7 separate regions of the Homo sapiens genome follow, and all the other regions are linked to region 1. The links are contacts of gene promoters, found by promoter capture Hi-C in human tissues and cell types (Jung and others, 2019). All regions are on one chromosome and are shown on one strand. The core of a region is centred on a gene start or on the middle of the fragment in contact, and the rest is flanking DNA. Distances in the headings are between cores, read along the strand shown.

Region 1 (3,539 bases), core at 500-2,999:
GCAATATTTGCAAATCAATATCTCTTTGGGACTTAGCTGGGTTTCAGTAAAGAGAAGCACCAGGTAGATAAGAGAGGGGTCAGTATAGAGAATACATCTATAAACCTTTAAGCTGCACCAGTAAGTACAGATTGAAACAAACAAAAAAAAGAGCTTACTGTCTATCTCTAATCCCAAATAAGTAAGCACATTTATTATGTGGTTGTAACATAGAGACTGTTGTTTTAAGTGATCCTTGGAGTCCAGCATCTTAAATAATCTGGAGATCCGTGGTTATCTTAAGAAGGCTTTAAGGACCAGACATTTTTTAGAAGCGAACTCAGACTCAGTTGGCAGGGTGGCTCTCCCACCGCAGAAAGGCTACATGTTTTGTTGGGCATTGATCAGGTGCGCCGGGAGGCTGGATGCCTTGGGGGAGGAGGAAACCCACTTGGATTTCTCCTCAGCAAGGCAGCTTTGGCTCCGGTAGAATGTAAGGAAGGTTGGAATGGATTTCAACAGTCCTTTACCGCACATCTTTAAAATGAGTTTAATAGCTAGTAATTAACTCCCTCGTTTATTATTCCTTCAGCTCTGTTGAAGGCTGTACTCCCTTTTAATGTATCATCATCTGACACGAAATACAGACAAAGGTCAGATGCCACGGGAGACCCACCTTTGAGGTTTTCCTTTATACCTAATGAAAGAAAACAAACTTAGCAGTCAAGCTTGGCTGCCCTCGCAATTTACTGCCTGGAGCTGGTCTTACCGTGGTTAAAGAATGGAGGATGGGGGAAGCAAAGGAGGGATGTCTAAAAATACAACTGCTTCCAAGAGAGACATTCAAGTTCTCCGCTCAAGATGGATTAAGCCCCACTCTGAGGCTCGGAGGCTCGGATCCCACAGGCTGGGAGCGCTGTGCTGTGCCCGGTACCCAACCCAGGTCCTCGACCCCGGCCCCTCACTGGCAGGGCGGCGACCCCCTGGCCCCTGGCTTTGGTCTGCTTATTGATGTTAGCTGGAGTCACATGAGTGCAGCAGCTGGGAGTCCGCCTCTGGAAAGAAGACAGGCAGGAGCCAAGTGAGGGCAATCCTGAACTAGCTTTTTCTGGGCAGCGCATCCCGTGTAGCCAGCCCGGGAAAAAGCCTCTCACCGAACACCAGCCCGGGGCGCGGGGACTCGGGGACCCGAGGGGCGGGGAGGGGCCCCCAAGGGCTGGGGACTGGCAGAATTGCTCAAAATGGCAGCACTCTCCGCACGCAAGATCGCTCACTTACCCAGGGAGACCGAGGGAGGTCGGGGCCGGCGAACGGGCGCTCGGGCGACACAAAGGAACCATGGAGAAACTTTTTCAGCCCGAGCCGACGGCGGAGCGCAGGGACAGCGCCCCGGGGCCCCGCATCCGAGCGCGACTCAGCAGCCCCGCGGGGGCGAGCGCCCGCCCCAGGCTCGCAGTCCCCGCCGGCGCTGTGGCGGGAGCCATTTCCAAGAGTTTCCAAGAAGTGTCAGGTCCTCCGCATCCCGCATCCCGCATCCCGCCTCGGAGCCCTCCTCTCCGCCGCTCATCCTCCAGCTCCCGGCGTCCCCTAGCGCGGCGCTCCCGGGCGGGCCCCTGCGGCCGCGCCGCCGGCCCTCGCGCCTCTTTTGTGTGGCTGCGGCGCGCCGGGCTCCGCCGGGTGGAGTTGAGCCCGCGGCGGCGGCTCGGGGCGGCCGGACTGGCGGCTGTTGCTAAGAGACCGGAGCCATGACACAGGGAAATTGCGGCAGGGTGGCGGTCGGGGCCCGCCCGGCTCGGCGGAGTCGGGGGGCGCCCCCGCCCCCGCCCCCCGCCCCACCCCCTCCTCCGGCGCCCCCCCCCACGCCGCCGGCCTTCCCCGCTCCCCCGCGTCCTCCGCCGCCCGCCGCCCGTCCCTTCGGAAGCGCCGATTCCTCGGGGAGGAGGAGGCGTGAGGGGAGGCGGCGGAGGCAGCCGGCACGGGGCGCTCGGGCCGCGGGGCAGGGGGCGCGGGGTGCCTCCTCGGCCTCGGCTCTCCCCGCCCCGGGGCGCCCCGAGACCGCCGCCTGCCTCCGCGGGCAGCTTTGTTCTTCTTTCCTCCAACTACCTGTCTGAGCCGCGGGCCCCAGAGGCCCCAAAGAGAGGCCCGGAGGGTCTCCCCAGCAGCATCCGAGGGGCGCTCTCGGGGAGCTAGGGGCCAGAGTCCGCGGTCCCTCCGTGCCTGCCTCCCTCCCCTCGTGCCTCGGTCTTTTGTTGCCTCTACTCCTCGGCACGGCGCAGCCTGGGCTCTCTTCCCCCTCCCGCTTGGGAGTTTGCAGTGTGGACGCTCGGCAAGCACAGTAAGTTGTCCCCCAGCGAACTCGGGCCCGGGCGGAGTGGAGCCGCCCCCGCCGGGACGGGCGCACCGCGGGACGCTTGGAAGCCTCTGCCAGATGCGCTCGCGCTCCAGCCCCGCCGGGCTTTGTGACCAGCCTGACCGGGACCCGGCAGCTGGGGCTCCTCGGAGATCAGAATGGGCTCCGGGGCTCTTCCTTGGGCAGCCCCTCCTGCTCCTCCCCGGTGCGGTAATCAGCAAGCATTAAAAGGAAAACTATAATTCTCCAGGAATCAGGAATCAGGGTTGGAATCAGAGAGGGGAGGTGGGGGTAGGGAGGATGTCCAAACTCCCTACGTCATTTAAAAAAGAGAGAAGGCGAGAGAGAGAGAGAAAGAGATCGAGATCCTGTTTCCTAGTTCATCCCTGTCTTCTCAACTGTAAAGTAAAAATGACAGGGAAAAGAGAATTTCAAAGTGGAATTTCCCCAAAGAGTATTGAGAAAGTGAGAAAGATTTCATTTATCTATTGAAATGAGGCAGCCAGGATTCAGGAAGAAAGGAACAGAAGAGCAGATGAAGCAAGTGCTGTCTGAAATTTTGGATCCAGATAAATATTTTGGTGGTGGTGGGTGTTATATATTCTGAGTTTTGCTGCTTAGGGGTCCACAAAACCCACACAGGAGGGCTCTGCTGCCCGCAGCTCCTGTTACAAGATTGTTCCCCACATACACAGCATTCACTTGTGCTTAAATCTAGAGCAGACACTTTTCAAAAAGAACAATAAAGACAACCAATTTACAAGTTCAATGATATAAATGTGAACAGTGATCTAAGAGATGGGGATAGAGACGGTGGGGGACAGGAGGGAACGAAGCAGAAGTGTTTTCTAAAAGGCAACCCTGCATTCACCTGTTGGAAAGGTGGCCTCTGTCACCCTTTTCAAGCAAATAACGAATCTGAATGATGATCAGGGTGTCCGGAACCCACCGCCTTCCCCCTACCTATTCATGCTCAGATTCAGGCTATTAGAAAACAAACCATAATGAAGGGAAAGTTTTAAATCCCACATTGGGTTGTTTCCTTTTAGAGAAATCACTGCAAAGGAAAAATAATAAGATCTAGTTGTCGTTTTCTAAAGCCTTTTTGGCTCTGAACTTCCAGATCTCCTGAATCCCAATAATAATCTGGTATTTTTTACAAAGATTGGGCCTACAGTCTCATTTCATTGCACAGCTAGCTGCCAGAGTC
Region 2 (3,444 bases), core at 165-2,664, 610 kb after region 1:
AGATAGCAGATCCTAAAGGAGATCAAAATATTTTACCCCAAAATACATTTTTTTCACATATTTTAAAATGGCCCTGCAAAGCTATCTTTTGTAGGGTAAATTTGCATCTGTAAAGAATCTCCAGTAATGCAACCAGTCCTTTCCTGGATCTGGAAGAGATTAATTAAGAGTCTGACACCTTTTAAGGTCCAAAATGGGACATTTACCATCTATTTCTCTGGAGCTTACTACCTGGAGGCTTTATCTGCATAACAAAAACCATGACTTCCATAATCCCCCTTATCTTGACTCAAGCATTTGCTTGTTCTTCTGACTTCAGGCCTTTAGCTTAACTCTTTCAACCGACTGCCAATCAGAAAATCTTTGAGTCTACCTGCGACCTGTGACTATAAACCCCACTTCCCATGAGATGTCCTCTCTTTCTGGGCTGAACCAATATATACGTTACATGTTTGATTTATGTCTTTGCCTATAACTTCTCCCTCCTTAAAAATGTATAAAACCAAGTTGTAACTTGATTGCCTCAGGCACACTTTCTCAGGACTTCTTGAGACTGTTCCCTGGGCCATGATCACTCAATATTGGCTCAGAATAAACCTCTTTACATATTTCATAGTTTGCCTTTTTGTTAAGCAAATCTGTTAAGATGAAAATGTGCACACTCATTGACTAGGCAGGACCTACATATATGTTCTAGATAAACTTTGCAAACATACATTAAGGGATTTGTACAAGAAGATGTATAGCAAAAAATTGGAAGGAATCTAAATTATAGACAATAATAGAATGTATGCTTCAGTAGTGGTCTAATCATACAATGGGCTATCATAGAGCAGGGAAAATGAATAAACTACAGCTACACATGCAACACACACTGATATAGTTTGGATCTTTGTCCCCACCCAAATCTCATGTTCAATTGTAATCCCCAGTGTTGGAGGTGGGGCCTTGTGGGCAGTGATTAGATCATGGGAGTCGTTCCTTCATGAATGTTTTAGCACTGTCACTTTGGTGCTGTTTCCATGATGGTGAGTGAGTTCTCACAAGATCTGGTTGTTTAAAAGTATGTGGCACCTCTCTCTCTTCCTCCTATTCTGGCCATGTAAGATGTGCCTGCTTCCCCTTTACCTTCTGCCATGATTAAGTTTCCTGAGGCCTCCCCAGAAGCAGAAGCTGCTATGCTTCCTGTACAGCCTGCAGAACCATGAGAAACACACACATACATAACTACATTTCATCCCATTTGCATAAAGTGCAAAAAATGTGAAAAATTACATAACACATTCTTCAGGAATGAAATGCATAAGGAAAAACTATAAAGAAAGGTAAAGAAATGATTAACACAAAATTCATATCAAAGAGGAGGGAAGCGGATCGGATTAAAGGAACTAGAGAGCTTCCAAATCAAAAGGAATATTCTATTTCTTAAACTGGGTTTTGGATACATAGGTGTCCATTGTAGTGTTATTCTATATACCTTACATACATTAGACTAATTTATATCTACTTGAGATTTAATAAAATGTTAAAATATTTTTAAAAAGCAAATTGCAGAATACTGCACACACCATAACACTCGTTAAGTAAACATGTTCACACAGACAAAACCACATACATCTGTAAATATGTCATTGCATAGCAGAAAGTGTAAAAGGCTCTCCACACACTGAAAATGGTAACTGCATCTAAGGAGACAGACTAGCAATGTGGACAGAGCTCAAGGAACATTTGGATAGAGTTTTATTTTTTACTTTTCTACAGGGAGTTTTTTTATATTAATTATGTAATTAAAATAGGTTTTATAAAATTGAAGAAAAATTTGAAGAGAATTTGAAAGGAAGGAAGAAAAAGGGGAGAGAGAGAGGATAAAGAAAGGAAAGGAGGGAAGTAAGAGAGGAGGAGAGAGGCAGAGAGAAAGGAGGGAGGAGGAAGGGAGGGAGGAGGGAGGGAGGAAGGAAGGAAGGAAGGAAGGAAGGAAGGAAGGAAGGAAGGAAGGAAGGAAGGAAAGGAGGGAAAAAGGGAGGAGGAAAGGAAGAGACGGAGGGCGGGAAGGGAAGGAAGGAAGTGATACAGGAGAGAGAAAGAAATTATTTGGACAGATAGTGAGGACAAAAGAGTCCCCAGCAGAACTTCCCTTCTAACAAAAAGCAGCCCTTGAAATCACTTCTTTTCTAACAAAGAGCTCCTTGAAATATTGAGCTGCAAACATAGATAAGGAAGCTGGAAGCTTGCACAAGGGGATGCTGGCAGTGGCACAGACAGAAGGGGCTACCTGGGGCCAGGCATGTCCACCACGGGCGCTCCACCTCCCCTCTTTTTTAGCAACATGGGGTAACTACCCACCTACATAATAAAAGATTGGGGTGGAGGCTGCCAGAAATTCACACCCTATACATATGACACACCTGGTCCTAACTGGTTTTTTACACCCTGTGTAGATCAGATACCACCTCTCCCAAATAGCTTATCTATAAAAACCCTTGCATTTCACTGCACATCAGCAAACCATTTCTTCTGGGACCCCTCTCTGTAACAAAGAGCTATTCTCTTTCTTTCACCTACTAAAATTCTGCTCTAAACCTCACTCTTTGTATGTGTCCATGTCCTTGATCTCCATGGCTATGAGGCCAAGAACCTCAGGTGTCACCCCAGACAACAAGGCTGGTTCAGAAGGAAGGAAAGAAGGAAGGAGAGAAACAGGAAGGAAGGAAGGAGAGAGAGTGAGGGATAGAAGGAAGGAGGAAAGGGAGGAAGGAGGGAAGGAAGGAAGGAAGGAAGGGAGGAAGGAAGACAAGCAGGTAAGCAAGCGACACCTCTGCTGGGCAGGCCTGGAGAACTGCAGAGCTGCTTCAAGTCCCAGCTCTGTCACAGGTGACTTCCCCGTAAAGGGAGGACGCTCCAGCCACCTCTTGAAGTGACTGACCTTTTCTGCTTCCAAGGGCAGGGCAGGGTGGGGGTTGAGAGGTGTGGGGAGGGTTTGAGTGACTCAGATGCTGGGTGAGTCAGCTGGTCCCAGGAAAGGACAAAGGCTCCATCGGGCTCTAGGTAGAGCCACCATTTTTTGCTTTCAAGGAGTTTTTTCAAAAAGTATGCTAATAAACTGTCATGGTTTAAAAAAACTGTGGAAACTTCAACTTTCATTATTAATTATCTGTAACATAAATTTTCAGAGCACTGAGCCCTTAAAACATGAATTGTTTTTCCAAGGGATGAGATTACATTTTTGTCTAATATTTTCCTGCGATGAGACTTCACTTCTTCCTGAGTGTTAGGATCTGTCTCTTGACTCCTCTCCTTGGCTGGTAAATGTTTTCCCCCAAGGCAGTAATCAAAATCACAAACATAATGATTTTTAAAGGCACTTAAATATGCAATAAAATAAGTCATTCACTGTTTCTAAGTACAGTTTTGGTTTCAAGGCAGACAAGACATCAATAAAGTTAG
Region 3 (3,412 bases), core at 587-3,086, 630 kb after region 1:
AACAAGGACACACAAAGTCAAAACCACCATGATGTGGACACCAGACCTGTGGAGTGGGAAATACCAGTCTGCACTGGTCACTATTTTACAGGCAAAACTTAATTGCCCCATTCAGGAGAACACCTTTCAAAGGCAAAGTGCCTGACTGAATAACTGGGACTTCAGTTCAGCTTAGCCAAGCATACCCATTCCGAAGCCTTCACAGACCTTTAAAAGGATCAGCCAGTTTGGCTTTTGAAGATGAAAATTGCAATTGGAATGAGAATTTTATTTCTTTCATTTGTTACAATGTGCAGGCAACTCCACACATTTCATAGGGTCAGCAGTGATCCCCAAATTAAAATTTTACATCTTTTACTCAATACCAGCAATAGTGGGCATACAAGGAAATGTAATGGAGAAGGAACAGCCTTCAGATGAAGGTGAAGCTTTATTCAAACCTGCCTTGACTGCTTTTAGCAGTGTGACTTTGAACAAGTTATTGCAATTCCTGGTTCTCACTTTTCTCATATGTAAAATAAAGACAGTATCTACCTAGTATGATTGTTGTGAGGAGCGAATAAACCATAAAAACACTAAAACAGCTCATGACTCCTTAATAATGGCAGGGCTGTTGTCATTACCCTGTATTTGTAGTATTCCTTCCTCAAAGCGAGGCCTGGAGACCTTCCCACACCATCAATCTGGATCAGTGAGTCTTAGACCTGGCTGTGAGTGAAAATTGCCTGGAAGCTTTTACAAATACCCCTGACAGGTGCCCACTCCAGAATGATGGAATCAGGATCTTTCCGGGTGGGGCCCACATATTTTGTAAAGCTTCCCAACTGATTCTTATTTGTAGTCAAGATTAAGACCCACTAGTCTAGGTTAATTAGCAATAGTCCCCCCAACACACACAGACACTTATGTCCATTTCTTGAACCTGCTATCCCTAGTCATCTTTGGTATAGAATCATATCCTCTGTGAGGGGAGATAATTTGACCTACTCTCTTCCTATTTAGATGCCTTTTATTTCTTTCTCTTGCCTGATTGCTCTGGCTAGGACTTCTAGTACTGTGTTGAATAGGAGTGGTGAGAGTGGGCAACTTTGTCTTGTTCCAGTTCTCAGGGGGAACACTTCCAGCTTTTGCCCATTCAGTATGATGTTGGCTATTGGTTTGTCATAGATGGCTTTTATTATTTTGAGGTGTATTCCTTCAATGCCTAGCTTGTTTTTTAATAAACTAGGGTTTTGAACTAGGGCTTTTAACATGAAGAGATGTTGAATTTTAATCAAAAGCCTTTTCCATTTATTAAGTTATTGATTTGCATATGTTGAATCAACATTGCATCTCAGGAATAAAACCTACTTGATCATGGTGGATTAGCTTTTTAATGTGCTGCTGCATTCAGGAGAGGATTTTGGCATCTTTGTTCATCAGAGATATTGGCCTGAAGTTTTCTTTATTCATTATGTCTCTGCCAGGTTTTGGTATCAGAATGATGCTGGCCTCATAGAATGAGTTAGGGAAAAGTCCTTCCTCCTTGCTTTTTTGGAATAATTTTAGTAGGATTGGTACTAGCTCCTTTTTATATATCTGGTAGAATTTGGCTGTAAATCCATCTGGTCCAGGGCCCTTTCTGGTTGGGAGGCTTTTTATTACTGATTCCATTTCAGAGCTCAGTATTGGTCTGTTCAGGATTTCAACTTATTCCTGGTTCAATCTTGAGAGGTTTTATGTTTCCAGGAATTTATCAATTTCTTGTAGGTTTTCTAGTTTGTGCATAGAGGTGCATAGAAGTGTTCATAATAGTCTCTGAGCATTTTTTGTACTTCTGTGGGGTCGGTGATAATGTCACCTTTGTCGTTTCTGATTCAGTCCATTTGGATCTTCTCTTTTTCCTCTATTAATCAAGATAGCAGTCTATCAATCTTATTTATTCTAAAAAAAAATCTTTGGTTTCATTGATCTTTTGTATGAATTTTTATGTCTCATTTGCATTCAGTTCAGCTCTGATTTTGGTTATTTCTTTTCTTCTGCTAACTTTGGGGTTGGTTTGGTCTTGTATTTTTTAGCTTCTCTAGATGTGATGTTAGGTTGTTAATTTGAGATCTTTAACTTCTTGATGTAGGCATTTAGCAATATAAACTGTCCTCTAATGCTGATTTAGCTGTGTCCCAGAGATTCTGGTATGCTGTAGTGTTTTTTTTTTCTTTCATTTACTTCAAATAATTTTTTTATTTCTGCCTCAATTTTATTATTTATCCAGAAGTCATTCAGGGACAGGTTGCTTAATTTCCATGAAATTGTATAGTTTTTAGAGATCTTCTTGGTGCTGATTTCTATTTTTATTGTGCTATGGTCTGAGAGTGTGGTTGGTACAATTTTGGTTTTTTTGAATTTGTTGAGAATAACTTTATGGCTGAGCATGAGGCCAATCTTAGAGTATATGCCATGTGCAGATAAGAAAAATGTATATTATGTTGTTGGGTGGAATACTCTGTAGATGTATATTAGGTCGGTTTGGTCAAGTGTTGAGTTTAGGTCAAGTGTCGAGTTTAGGTCAAATATCTTTGCTAGTTTTCTGCCTCAGTGATCTGTCTAACACTGTCAGTGGGGTGTTGAAGTCTCCCATTATTATTGTGTGGTTATAGAAGTCTTTTCATAGGTCTCTAAGAGCTTGTTTTGTGAATCTAAGTACTCCAGTGTTAAGTGCATATATATTTAGGATAGTTAAGTCTCCCTGTGGAACCGAACCCTTTATCAGTATGTAATGTCCTTATTTGTTCTTATTGAATGTTGTTGATTTAAAGTCTGTTTTGTCTGAAGTAAGAATAGCAGCCCTGCTCTTTTTTGTTTTCTGTTGCTTCATAGATCTTTCTCCATTCCTTTACATTGAGCCTATGGGTGTCATTGAATGTGAGATGAGTATCTTGAAGACTAACTGTCCTTAGCTTCTAAAGGACTCTATGTTGCAATACTTTTTTTCTTTTTTTTTGAGACAGGATCTGGTTCTGTCACCAAAGCTGGAGTAGTGGCATGATCATTGCTCACTGTAACCTTGAACTCCTGGGCTCAAGAGAACCTCCTGCCTCAGCCTCCAGATTAGCTAGGACTACAGGTCCTTGCCACCATGCCCAAGTAATTGTTTTTATTTATGTATTTTTTTAGAGATGGGGTCTTACTATGTTGCCCAGGCTGGTCTCAAATTCCTGGCCTTAAGCAATCCTCCCACCTTGGCCTCCCAAAGCAGTAGGATTACAGGTGTGAACCACTGCACCCAGCCTTCCAATGGTCTTTTTATTTTTAGTAATATTAGTTTCTAGAATTCTATAAAACAAGAAAAAATTCAACGTGAAATTCTGAAGTTATCCTTCCTTTCACCTCTTAATGTAAATCTAACATAGGTTCCACTTTTAGCAATTAAAAT
Region 4 (3,282 bases), core at 256-2,755, 830 kb before region 1:
AATTACATAGGCAATTCTTAAAGAGTGAAACAGTTTTCATTTTCAGCCATTAGAAGTAACCACAAAAAGGAACACAGGTTATTTTAAAAACTGAAATTAAATAAGTCCTGGAATGTTCCATGGTGCCTTGACAAGTAGAAAAGTGATCAAACACATTAGATCACCTGCCTGGCCAGTCTTTGAAACAATGAGACAAAAAAGGAAACTCATTACATGTCAAGCTTGGGTGATTAGATTAGATTTTCTATATCGTACCTGTCTGGGCTACATTTGCATAAGCTCACAAAATGCAGGGGAGGCTTAAAGCAGGTTGTCATGCCATGCCTGGTTGGACTTGTTCATGCTAACAAGGCTGAAGGAGCTACTAACTTCAGCATCAGGGGCGGTAACTCTCTCTCAGCACTTCAAGATCCAAATAAAATAATTCACAGAGATTTCAGTTTAGAGAACAGTGAACAGTTAACTAACAGACACCTTAGCTAGTCTGAACGGTTGAGTCTCCTTAAGAAATTCTGCAAAACACGGATTCAGAACTTAAGAGAGACAGAATAAAGCAACACAATGAATCAAGAGCAATCTGGTGTCTTTTTGAAAGAGGAGAAGACAATGGGGAAATAGCATTTTTTTAATTCTACATCATTGGATTTCAACTGACCATGAATCATTTCATCCCATATTTATGCAGTTCTGTAGACTTTCAAGGCAGTCTTGAGTCCACTATCACATTTATTCTGACGTCTGTTCTCTGCCGGTCACATCTGAATCATGCATTTGCGGGCTGAGAACACTCAGCCTCTGTGCAGTTGAATGACTCCTTCATTCACATGGAGCATAAATAGTAAGCCCAATTCTCCACCCCAACTTGTGTTTTCATTTGCCTTTTGTATGTGGATTAAAAAGGTGATGTTAAGGCACATTTAGTAGAAAGAAGGCTTTTTATCCAAATTTTAGATGGGAGGGAAAGGAAGGATAGTGGCAAGAAGATGGTGTAGTTTCTTAACAGTATAGACTTCAGCTTCTGCTCCATACCAAGCATGCTCGGCATGAGCTAGTAGCTTCCTCCTCCATCCTCTGTTCCCAGCCTCTACCGGCCTGATCTGGCTCTTGATGCTCCAATCTCCTTCACCACTCTCACTCCCAGGAGCCACATTATGACCTTTTGACCTCCCTGATCAGCCTCTTTGACATGACCAAGGTGGCCTCGATTGCCTGGTCCCACCCCCAGGCCCTTGCTTGTATCAGTCCCCAGCCTAGATCTCTTCTATCAGCCATTCCTGCTCTGGGGACACTGTTTCTCCCACTCCACTCTTGCTGCCACTTGGGATCTTATTTCTCACCTGGATGACTCCAGTGGACTCCAGCTTCCAGGTTCTCCCCACGTACTACTGCCATAGAATGCTCACCAAAGGGAAATGTGTTGACTGAATGGCTGCTCTACCCCAGGAACTTTAATATGTTTCACTTTTGCAAGGACACTATAAGTTCATTTTTGTATTACTATTTGTTGAAACTTTTTATTGACAGAAAAGTGCGTATATTATATTCTAGTGGTAAAGCTTGGCAAAATTTCACAGATTAAACACAACATATTCCGCAGTCACATAAAAGCAAAACAAAACAAATAGACAAATAAACAAGAAACAGAGAAACCCTGAAAGCATGACTGTTGGGTCATACGTTATGCATGTACCTGGCTTTAGTGGATATTGTCAGTTTTCCAAAGTGGCTATACCAACTTACACTACCATCAGCTGTGTGTGATGGTTCAAGCTGTTCTACACTTACCACTTGGTATTTTCTATTTAACCATTCTGGTGAGTGGGTAGTGATTAACACCACCTTAAAATAAGAAAAATTAAATTCAGGGGGATAGACTGTCTTGTCCCCAGATGCCAGCAAAGGAAGCACTTGAATGAGTTCTGTCTACTCAGAACACCCACAGCTCCTTTGCAGTAGTAGTATTCTGCTTTTTTGTTCTCTAACGTTTTTATCAACACTCTCTCTATTTTTTCCATAGATAATTATACCTTTGCTTTTAAGAGCTGTCATAAATAATTAAAATATTTGAGCTGAATTAAATACCATAGCTCAGTTAATAACATGGGCTTTATTTAGGACCAGACAAGTCTGAGTTCAAGCCCTAACTTCAATCTTACTAGCTATAGTTCTCTAGGCTTCAATTTCTTCACCTCTAAAGATGAGAATGAGGGTAGAAACTAGCTCCTGAAGAGGTGATGAGGACTAAATGAGATGATACATGTAAAGTGCTCAGCACAGAGCCTTCACACAATGATCATTCAACAAATTAGTAGCAAAAGAGAGATCTCGTGTGTAAATACTTTTAAATATTGAAGTTTTATATATTCAGACAAATACAGTGAGTTGAGTGCAATTAGAATAATTTTGATTCTAAATAAGCTGCTAAGAGTCTTCATTTTCATGAACATAAAAATTAGGGTTCAAGTCTGGGCAACATAGCGAGACTCTGCCTCTACAAAAATAAAAATAAGCCCAGCGTAGTGGGGCAAATTGGCAGACCCAGCTACTCAAGAGGCTGAGGCAAGAGGATCACTTTACCTCAGGAGGTCAAAGCTGCAGTGAACTAGGATCACACCACGCACTACAGTCTGGGTGACAGAGCAAGACTCTGTCTCTAAAATAAAAATAAAACAAAAAAAAATTGGTGTTCATTAGTGACAACTGTGTAACTTAGCAACAGACTCCACTTGCTATGTTATCAATCCCTCCTCTGGTATAGTGGTGGATTTTCACTCACCACTTGTCAAAATGATCAAACATCGTGACTTCTTAGAATCTATTTTAACAAGGGGAGGGGATTTTATCAGGATTTGCTGGACATTTCAGGGAAAGCCCCCTTTGTGTGAGTCTTGGTAAGAGGCTTCCTCTGCCAAAGAAGGACCACTTTCTCCTTCCCTGCCATTGGGTGGCATGTGAGCTAGGCTAGTCCAATCACAGGTTTCGTCCAGGCCTTGCTTCTGGAGAGGGTGATAAAAAGTGTGAATTCACGGCATCTCTGAAAGTCTACTGGGGTGGGGCTGGGAGCGCACACAGCTTTGGAGATGGCAGTAAAAGATTCCCTGGCCCGACTCCAGGCCCCTGCCATCCAGACCCCTTGTGCCTGCCCATTCAGAACTGCTTCACCATCCCTTTTGTTGATGTAAAGAAGACATTTTTCACCTGCTTAAATTGACCATATTTGGCTTATCTTGCATTCAACCAAGAACCCAAGGGACACAACAAGTTTCACTATATTTTATTGCT
Region 5 (3,280 bases), core at 693-3,192, 800 kb before region 1:
CCAGGTTGTGCCATTGCACTCCGGCCTGGGCAACAGAGCAGGACTCCATCTCAAAAAACTAAAAAAAAAAAAAAAAAAGGAAAAAGAAAAACAACAACAACCTATAAACTGTTTTGAATGAAACAAATACATTTCAATCCTATCCTCAAAGGGACTTGTATCTGGAATGAAACGAGAGGCATGTATAGGAAACAGGACAAGAGAATGAACAAAAAGTTAAGGGGGCAAGAAAAAGTAAAATGTAGAATGAATGTGGACTTCCCAGATTCCAGGTTCCAAACTGAATGAACTTTGGTGTGCTATCAAAGAAGAATTTATTTTAAATCCTATCCTAGGGGTATAGTTAATTTTATTTAAAAATATTTTACTGAGATCTGTATCTCCTTGGGTCATAGTCTAAATGAAAACCTGGAGGTATAAGAATGGCTTAGGTAAAAGTATTTTACCTCTCTTTGTTCATTATATTTTATTTTCTTAAAAGAGCTGTGTGCTTATTCAAGGAGAGAAGACGATTTTGAAAATGAGATGTTGGCAAGAGGTGCAGTCCCTCAGTGCTTCACTGTGGACCCTAGAGGTTCCATCCCTGCTGCCTGGGCCCATCTGTCATAGCACCTGTCCACATTTTGGGTGCCACCACTAATGACATCTTGTTGGGTGAATCTTTCTTTCCTAATATCCTATAAATCCATAATCTCATTTCAGGAATATACTGAGGACGGGAGGTGTGGGATAAACAAAAGGACTTCAAAAAATTCACAGAAAAATAAAATTAAAAGATAGAAATACAATACATAAACTTTTTCAATGTAAGTTTCATCAATGCCAAGATGTTTTTGTAAGCAATGATACCAACCATGTAGTCCATCCGTGAAAGAATTGAGGGCCCTGGGAATTTAACCTTGTCAATGCAGTGTTTTGTTTTTTTACATTATTAACCTAAGAAAAATGGATGCCCTTTAAATTTTTTTTAAGATTAGAAAACAAAAAGAATTCATAAGGAAGCAAATTAGGACTGTAAAGTGGATGCCTAATGATTTTTTCACTGAAACTCTCACAAAAGTGCCCTTGTTTGATGGGAGGAATGAGCAGGAACATTGTGGTGGTGGAGAAAGACTGTCTGGTGAAACTTTCCTGGGGGTTTTTCAGCTAAAGCTTTGGCTGACTTTCTCAAAACACTCTCGTAATAAGATGTTATCACTCTTTGGTCCTCCAGAAAGTGAACAAGCAAAATGCCTTCATCATCCCCAAATAATGTTACCATGACCTTTGCTTTTGACTGGTCCACTTTCGTTTTGACTAAGACCACTTTCACCTCTTGGTAGCCATTATTTTGATTGTGTTTTGTCTTCAGGATTGTACTAGTAAAGCTGTGTTCCATCATCTATTACAACTTTTCAAATAAATCCTTCAGGATGTTGATCCATTTGTTTAAAATTTCCATTGAAACCTCTGCCCTTGTTTCCCAGCTGATCTGGGCTACACAGTTTTGGCACCCATCAAGAGGAAACTTTGCCCAACTTTAATTTTTTAGTCAGCATTGTGTAAGATGAACCAGTTGAGATGTCTATAGATTGCCTCCAAATTTAAGTCCATCCTTTTTATGTATACTTCTGAAGAAAAAATTACTTCTTCACTAATATGTTCTAGCATTTCTTCTTTCCATGGAAGACCACAATTTATATGAAAGGAGTTAATTAAAACGTGCACTTGAGACTGCTAATTTTATGACAGCCTGGGTATTGCTTGGCAAAACAATAAGGATAATATCTGACTGAAATAAATAAACTTATACTTGAGAGAACTTTATGGTAGGCAACCTGCTGAGGAAAGAGATACCAGCAGGACATTGTGTTGACCAATTTCATGTGTCAACTTGGCTAGGGCATGGTGCTCAGTTGTTCGGTCAAATAGCAGTCTAGATGTTGCTGTGGAGGCATCTTGTAGATATGATTAACATCTATAATCAATCGAATTTAAGTAAAGGAGTTTATCCTTAATAATGTGGTTGGGCCTCATCTAATCAGCTAAAGGCCTTAAGAGCAGAGACCAAGGTTTCCTGGAGAAGAAAGAATTCTACCTCAAGACTGTAACATGGAATTCTGCCTGAGGGCCAGGTGTGGTGGCTCATGGCTGCAGTCTCAGCACTTGGGAGGCCAAGGTGTTTGGATCGCTTGATGCCAGAAACTCGAGATCAGCCTGGGCAACATAGGAAGTTTCCATCTAAAACTAAATAAGTTAAATAAATTAAATAAATCCTGCCTGACTTTCTAGCCTGCTCTACAGACTTTGGAGAATCACATTAGCAAATTGCTTAAAACAAATCTCTCTTTCTGTCATGTTGGTCCTGTGTTTCCTCTGGACAAACTTGATTGATAAAGAGATTAATTCAATAAAAAGAAAAATGACTAGAAGGGCTTTAAAATGGTATAATTTCATAAAACTAAAAGATTAAGAAAAAAAGCCTTCACAGAATTAACCTGGGCAGGGCAGAATTAGGAGCATCAACAGGGGGTTTTCTTTACAGAATGTAAGGCCTCATTCACTCCTCCTGTGGCCAAGCTCTAAGGGTATATTTTGCAATAGAACGGAGATGTGTTGCTGCCCAAAATGAGGAAGAAATGAGGAAGTCCAAGGTCTAGAATTCAGCACTGGGTAGTTCTTTTAAAACCTGGTATCTACAAAAACAGATCCTACATTTTAATTCTTATCAATCTAGATTCAGAATTTGGCTGGATGCTCCTAAAGAGCTACTGAAATAGACTCAATGGCAGCTACGATGCCCAACAGAAGCAGCGATGCCTGGTGCACATAGCAGGTTGCTAGCAGGAGTCATCTGGGGTGATTCACCTGTCTTGTTGGTGAGGATATGGACATCATCTGGGGACTCTCAGAAATCCCTGAAGTGATATAGAGTCCCACATGAGCTTGCCTGTGGTGTTTTACAAACCAATAACGTAGTGTTCATAAACCAAAGTCACTTGGAGGTAAGTAGCTGCTACAGTAGATTGTAAGCATCAGAACTGTTTTATATATCATATAATTCCCATGTGCTTATCACTATTCAAAACATTAATATCCACAGCAGCTATACCCAGCCTAGTAGCTCACAGATCAGCCTATAATGAAATTTTCAGTATTGCAAAGTAATAATATTAATACAAGAGTACCCAAGTAAAAATTATCTTTTTGTGCAAGCAGAAATTCAACTCTTGAGAATTAGTTCCTTGCCTTAAAGTTTAAACAATTTTAAAATCGTCACAAGCTTAAACACAAACAACCA
Region 6 (3,345 bases), core at 698-3,197, 850 kb after region 1:
GGCACAAAATTAGAAAAATTTAATAGAATTTAAATTAAAGTGGAGAGTTCCAAGAAACATGGGAGCATATTGTTGAATATTTTCCTTGTGTTTTTAATAATTCAATAAAACACACACACATACATTTTAAGAGGAAAAATCTATTTCACTTTTTTTCCTCATTTTCTGCTTTTGAGTGTCCTCTGACATGCTAGGCCCTAAAACTGATATCTGATGACATATTGCAAGAATGTGCCTGGGAAGAAAATGGGCTTAGAGGCTTGACAGGAATTTCCTTCCACCAAGGAACATTTCTTCACCTTTTTTTCTCTCTTCTTCACCTTTCTATCTTCACTTCATCTTCTTATCCATTACCATGGAGGGAAAATTATATAATGGTCATGAATCTAAAGACCTCCAGGATTTCTGAAGCCATACCCACAAACAAATAAAAATAAATGCTTTATTTAGTGATGTCAGTTTAAAAATCGAGGTATACTTCCTCTACAGTAAAGTGCACTGTTAAATATTCAGTTCCATGATTTTTGACCCATGTAACTACCATCCAAAACAAGATATATAACATCTCCCTCGCCCCAGACATTTTCTTCATGCACTTTGTTCCTTCAATTACTCCTTCCAGGCAACCCGTTTCTGACTTCTGTCACCACAGATTAGCATTGCCTGTTCGTGGAAGCCATCACAGCATGTATGATTTGTGTCTGGCTCCTTCGCTCATCATAATGGTTTCTGAGGTTCACACACATCATTTCATAGAAGCCTGAAAGTGCCAATAATGTGTACAGACCATTTAGTGGTTTTATCCTATTATTGTACCCAATTGTCATCCAGCTGTCTGGCAGCTGTTGGCTGTTGGGTTAAGAGGGGCTGGGCAAGGAAGCAGGTTTAGAGTAAAACCTATCACACTGTGAGAAAACCGAACTCAAGATTCTACTCCCAGGACACTGCATCTGGAGACTCATTTCTCCATTGTAGACCCAGCCAAGATTGGGATGTAAGCAAGTTTATTTTTGCGCCTGATCAATTTACTTTGGCTTCCTGGAGCCCTTCTATTTTCCCTGTAGTGATCCACGAAGGGATCATTTTGTTCTACCAAGGAACAGTCTTCTCAGCATTTAAGGTGTTTTACCTTCCCAAAGCATATATACATTTCTTTAAACCTCTAATAGTGAGACTCCAGGTCTCATTCAGAGAACGGAATGTTCTTTAGGCAGGAAGTCACACACCTCAGTGCACATAATTTAGACCAGGGGTTGGCACAGTTTTTCTGCGAAGGGTCAATATTTTAGGCTTTGCTGGTTGTATTTTCTCTGTGGGAACTCTACTGTTGTTATCGAGAAAGCAACCATAAACATTACATGAACCAATAGGGTTGATTGTGTTCTGATAAAACTTTATTTAGAGAAACAGGTAGTAGCCTGGATTTGGCCTGTGGGCCATAATAGTATCTGACTCCTGTTTTAGACAGCTTTCTACTCCGCCTACTCATGAGGCTTGTGTAGCAAGCCTATCCTAGCAAAATACAGAGAATTAGTTTTCCAGAATACAGAAAGCTGAAAGGAACCTGGGGTTGCACCTGTTACAATCTCTCATTTTTAAGTGAAAACACTGAGTCTCAGAGTAGTAACTTTTCAAGGTCACAAGGAATCAGTGAAGAGTCCAGACAATTCAGTCTTTAACAGATTCTGATGGATATGAGTCACATTACTTCAAATATAGTGTCATGTTGACATTTGGAGAAACTGTCTTAGCTCATGTGTTTTAAAGGAATAAAAGAGAAAGAGAAAGAGAGAGAAACGGATATAGGAATTCATGTGGTAGTGTTCTGAAAACTTAACCAGGGGTCAGCCAAGAAAGGATGAGAGTTATACATTTGGCAAGTAGATTGATTAATGAAACAAAAAACAGCACTGTATATTGAACACTTTGTCTAAGTCTGTTTTAAAATTATATATGTATGATGAATGAATAATAAATAATTTTAACTGAGAAAATAGAGACCTCTAGATTCTCTGATATTCAGTTCATTCATCCATTTATTTTCTTTTTTTTTTTTTTTTAGCAAACATTAATCAAATATCTTCTCTTGAAGCCACCATGAAAGAGCAAAGCTAATCAAGACAGAGTTCCTGTGCTTGAGGAGCTTATATTGGAGCCCAGGAGAACTGGGAACCATTTCTTGTTTAGTACTGTATCCTCTAAAGAGGAAACAGGGTTTGCTTCATGGAGGACATGATACTTGAGTTGGACATGTGGATATGGTGTGATGTGTGTATATTGGTCTATAGATGAAGGTAGACGGTAGGGAGAGGGAGTCAATAATTCAGTCAATAATTCAGGTTGGATGTATTTAGAGATTGGCAAGGGAAGTAGTGATAGTTTTTGTAGATATGTTTGGCAGGGTTTAATTTGTGGGATGGGATTGGCTCAACAGACCAGTTGTCAAAGAGATGTCAGTTGTTTCAGCCAAAGCAGTTAAAATAAGTTAATAAAAGTGCCTCACTTTGGGAGGGTGTCTTCAACTCTATAGATGCCATATAGTCTATTGAAGTAATTAAAATATTGAATTAAATATTAAAGCATTGATTTTGAAAGAATCAGACTCAAGCAAAAAATTCTTTTAGTGCTCTTGAAGAGTTCATGCTTCCCCACAGAAAAAATACCCAAATAACTGGTAGAAACTACTTTACACATTGGAAGTAGCTGATTTAATAGCTACTAATCATAAACATATGCTGGAATCATAGTGGTTCAGCCAGAGTGCCAGTATTCGGACTTCACATTTAGTAGAGACATACATAGCTCTTACCCCCAGTGACTCACACTTTCTGTGTTTACCTTGGCTTGTGGTTGGATGATCCAGCTGGGTATCCAGTGTTGTGCACCAAAGGCACATGGGGTAAGCAGAGGGGGAAGGCTTTAACTCGACACTAATGAAACACTGGCTTGCCTTAGGCATTTTAGTAATTATGTGAATGCAAAAATATTACTAATAACAGAGCATATTGTGGAGGCCATCTCAAACCTGGTCATCTGCATTCAAGCTCATGGCCACAGGTGCTGTGGAATGCACCGTTTGCTGTGAAAGTGGTGAAGGAGATCCAGTTAGAGATTTTCTGCCTTCCTGGAATGACACCACCCCTAGAATAGAAATCTCCACATTCCCAAACAAGATTCAACCTAAATCAACAAATATTCGGTTCAACGAACCAGTTACTGCATCAATACCTATTCCGGGAAACTTTTACATCCAGGGTATCTTTACATTTATAGATACCATGACTATATTGTATACCTGGAGAGAGCTCTCACAGTATTAAGAGTGTTTCTCTGGTACATAGAGAT
Region 7 (3,167 bases), core at 590-3,089, 550 kb after region 1:
GGGGCTGGTTGTGCTGCTGGGGCAGGTGTGCATGTGCGGGGTGAAAATTAACGTCTTAGGGTTAATTTAGCCTGAGACTGAGGCATAGCTCAGAATAAAGCCTTATAAGAAATGATTTCTTGCAGCATGATTTCCAAACTTTAGCCTCCAAACCCTTTGTTTATTTGAAATCTAGTCTATAAACAGGATAAAAAAGCAGACCTGTTCTGCCTGGTCTATTTCTCCCTCTGTGGTCTCACTGTCCTCTAGTGGGTCCATGAAACGGGGGAGATCATGGATCCCTCTGTTCTTGGGATCCCACATGCTTTTAGTAGTCTAGTCACCTCTAACAGGGCTCTCTCCAGGAACCATGGTTCACCCCCTCCTTCCCCCAAGCCTAAGGAAATCGCTTCCTATTTGCAGGACTATCTGCTCTAACTACTTCCTCTATCCTAGGGCATCATCCTTCCTTGAGGATTTATGGTTCTATTTTACAAAAGCAAGCAGGCTTGGAACCATCTCTGGTTTTCTGCCCTGCAGAGCCTTTCCTGAGATAATGAGCAGGGGTGAGCTATGTTTGGCCTAGTAAAAGGAAAGTAGGGGACATCTGGGGTGGGTGGGGGTGTTATCAAAATATCTAGCCAGGCAGTTTTCTATGCATTAGGAAATAATTTTTTTCTCTGTATGCCACATTAAGACTATAAAATCTGTGAAGGCTGGACCCACAATGGGCAGCATGCACAGAAACTGGCAAATGGTAAGAACTTAGAGAGAGAGAGAGAGAGACAGAGAGAGAGAGGGGGAGGGGTAGAGAGAGAAAGAGGGAGAGAGAGAATAAATTAACTGCTAAGGCTGCACAGAAAACACTGTGAACTACTCATTTGTCCAAATCTTTGACAGAATGACACATTAACCATCTGGAATATATGCCCTCTTCTCTAAATCTCATGAATTCCCCATGTCCCTTTGCAGGTTTTCCAGTGGTTCTCCCATAACTGTCAGTAAGCACTACCTTATATCTTAGCTACTGCTTCTATTTAAAGATGTCTCAGCCTTCTACTATGCCTTCTGTAGCAATGGCTAGTCACTTGTCAGAACCCTGTAAGAGAGTTCTTTGTGTACTTGAACACTTGGATCATCCCTGTGCCTGCTTTTCCATGAATCAAACAATCCAAACTCTTAATAATATTATTTTTCACAAACCCTGTTTTTCATTAGTTTGTAATTTGGGACTGTTATTGTTTTCTGTAGTTTCAGCCAAATTTTGTATGTTACTTTCTAAATGTAGAGACCAGGGTAGGAGTTGGGACTATGAGGAGAAATTACTTAATGGGTAAAATGTATGTTAGTCTTGTGATAGATGCCTAAAAAGCCCTGGTTTGACCACTACACAATCAATGCATATTAACAATATTGCCCTTGGACCCCATAGATTTATGGAAATTAAACTTTTTTAAAAAAAAGTAGAGACTAGAGTGAAAACAGAACTTTGTCTCACTAAATTAACCCTTGCTTTGCATTCCTTCCTGAAACATCCTCACAGGTACCCACAGCACATTGCTGGGAGCTAGGCTCAGGAACTATTTGCTAGAAAAACTGAGGTCAAGTTGGAATCCTGGTCTGATACTTCCCATCCCTGTGAACTTAATATTGTGTAATAATCGTAGCAGTGTCCCCTGTGGGTGGCTGGGAGGGTCTGTGAGTTCATCCATGTGGAGCATTTAGAACAATGGCCAGGACAAAGTATAGGTTCAATAAATGTTTGTTATTGGTTCTGTTGTTATTGCTGCTACTGTTGTTATCATTATTACTACTATTACATATCAGGCTCAGTGTACTCAGAAGAAACTTAAAGTACGGTGAGTCACAGGCAGCCTGCAGTAGGGAAGAAAGAGAAGGTAAGTAGGGGAAGGGCACAAGATGAGTGGAGACCTTAAATTCCCACCTGCCTTATTAACTACGTCCAGACTTTGTTCTCCAAGTCTGGTATGGTGCCTGGTTCCTGTTCCATAAATATTCATTAGATGGATTAATCCAATTTACCTTCTCACCATCTTTCTGTGAGCAAGCAACTTTTTAAAGACTATTAAATGACCATAGAACAAACTAAGTGTCTCCCTGGAGAGACTTCCTTGGAGAAAGCTTTCCTCCTGCTCTCCTCAGGGCACATTTTCTAAGCAATTCTATGAAACTCTACAATTGTTGTTAGAAAAAAAGTAACTCAAAGCCCAGCGTCTGTCTGCAGGGCCTACAGGGGATGACATCTTGTATAGGTGACATATATTTCCATGTGCTCAGAGCACAGCCCTCCAAAGTTAAACATTCCCAAGCTGATTATTGTTTGTCTATGCCAGACAATAATTAATTATGCCAGTGAGCGCCAGAGGCAGCAGAAACTGAAAAGTGAAGAATGATCTTTTATCAAAAACCCCGAACTGATTGTGGAGTAGCTCCAGTACTCTGGCTCTGCCAGCAAGAGAGCGGGATTTGCTCCGTTCTGCTCTGCCATACTTCTATGTTCTGCTTCAGCAGAGTGTGGAAGGGTCATATGCCTGCAATCTGACAGCCCCGTGCGGCCCCTGGGGAAGAGCCCATGGCTTGCCCTTCTCCCGCCCCTCTCAGGGGGCCACCCTGAATCAGATGGTTCTTGCTTCAACACAATGGATATGTCCTTTACTTGTGCTGTTTCTGTCTTATATTGACTAGTTTGTGGTCCTATAAAAAAAAATCCTACTTATTTAATATGCTGTTCAAATTCCTGCTTCCCAAAGAAAACTATAGCATTACTATAGATGTGAAGAACATCCTTCATGATAGCAGTGAATGCAGCCCAACACTGTAACTATCATCTGTTCCCTTCATGACCAAACATTGTATCAAGGACAGTTGTTCAGCTTTAGGAGATGCCTACATCTTGGTACATCATATCAATAAATGAAACTTTAAAAATAATCATCTATATAGATAATGAAAAAAATTGTATGGCAAACCACTGGAAATGATCTCATGAAAATCCAGAATAAAATAAAGGAGCCCAATACCATGATAGTTATTTAATATTTTAGGTAGTTTTTGACAATTACAAGAAAGCATGAAACACACATTAGGTGCATATGTAAAGAAAATAATAAAATTATTGTTTCTTGTAGATGGCATAATTTTAAGCCCAGAAGTAGTAAAACAATCAA

The links. Contacts are between HindIII fragments. The study calls those that stand out against the background at their distance.
Region 2: a contact is called between a fragment that was not itself captured here and the fragment with the promoter of TMEM200C in region 1, in 1 of the 25 tissues and cell types used here (lymphoblastoid cells).
Region 3: a contact is called between a fragment that was not itself captured here and the fragment with the promoter of TMEM200C in region 1, in 3 of the 25 tissues and cell types used here (dorsolateral prefrontal cortex, lymphoblastoid cells and stomach).
Region 4: a fragment that was not itself captured here is called in contact with the fragment with the promoter of TMEM200C in region 1 in 1 of the 25 tissues and cell types used here (H1 embryonic stem cells).
Region 5: a contact is called between a fragment that was not itself captured here and the fragment with the promoter of TMEM200C in region 1, in 1 of the 25 tissues and cell types used here (dorsolateral prefrontal cortex).
Region 6: a fragment that was not itself captured here is called in contact with the fragment with the promoter of TMEM200C in region 1 in 4 of the 25 tissues and cell types used here (H1 embryonic stem cells, bladder, dorsolateral prefrontal cortex and 1 more).
Region 7: a fragment that was not itself captured here is called in contact with the fragment with the promoter of TMEM200C in region 1 in 2 of the 25 tissues and cell types used here (dorsolateral prefrontal cortex and lymphoblastoid cells).

What each region holds. Positions count from the first base shown.
Region 1 is chr18:5,893,773-5,897,311 of GRCh38, forward strand. It overlaps TMEM200C (transmembrane protein 200C), which reads right to left and starts at 1,750. Exons shown (of 2, transcript NM_001395400.1): 1 at 1,258-1,750. All of the region lies in intron 9 of MIR3976HG (MIR3976 host gene), which reads left to right. LOC121725015 (a long non-coding RNA gene) reads left to right here and starts at 1,955. Exons shown (of 3, transcript NR_172505.1): 1 at 1,955-2,314. The HindIII fragment of the contact is 12,914 bases long and covers 1-3,539 here.
Region 2 is chr18:6,502,052-6,505,495 of GRCh38, forward strand. No RefSeq gene overlaps it. Among named protein-coding and RNA genes, the nearest start is that of LINC01387, 7.6 kb to the right of the region's middle. The HindIII fragment of the contact is 7,445 bases long and covers 1-3,444 here.
Region 3 is chr18:6,527,617-6,531,028 of GRCh38, forward strand. All of the region lies in intron 2 of LINC01387 (long intergenic non-protein coding RNA 1387), which reads left to right. Among named protein-coding and RNA genes, the nearest start is that of LINC01387, 18 kb to the left of the region's middle. The HindIII fragment of the contact is 4,806 bases long and covers 1-3,412 here.
Region 4 is chr18:5,068,307-5,071,588 of GRCh38, forward strand. No RefSeq gene overlaps it. Among named protein-coding and RNA genes, the nearest start is that of LINC01892, 11 kb to the right of the region's middle. The HindIII fragment of the contact is 3,103 bases long and covers 1-3,057 here.
Region 5 is chr18:5,092,830-5,096,109 of GRCh38, forward strand. It overlaps LINC01892 (long intergenic non-protein coding RNA 1892), which reads left to right. Exons shown (of 4, transcript NR_146900.1): 3 at 2,717-2,984. Among named protein-coding and RNA genes, the nearest start is that of LINC01892, 13 kb to the left of the region's middle. The HindIII fragment of the contact is 3,921 bases long and covers 1-3,280 here.
Region 6 is chr18:6,745,028-6,748,372 of GRCh38, forward strand. All of the region lies in intron 1 of ARHGAP28 (Rho GTPase activating protein 28), which reads left to right. Among named protein-coding and RNA genes, the nearest start is that of ARHGAP28-AS1, 17 kb to the left of the region's middle. The HindIII fragment of the contact is 7,565 bases long and covers 1-3,345 here.
Region 7 is chr18:6,445,607-6,448,773 of GRCh38, forward strand. No RefSeq gene overlaps it. Among named protein-coding and RNA genes, the nearest start is that of L3MBTL4, 32 kb to the left of the region's middle. The HindIII fragment of the contact is 3,941 bases long and covers 1-3,167 here.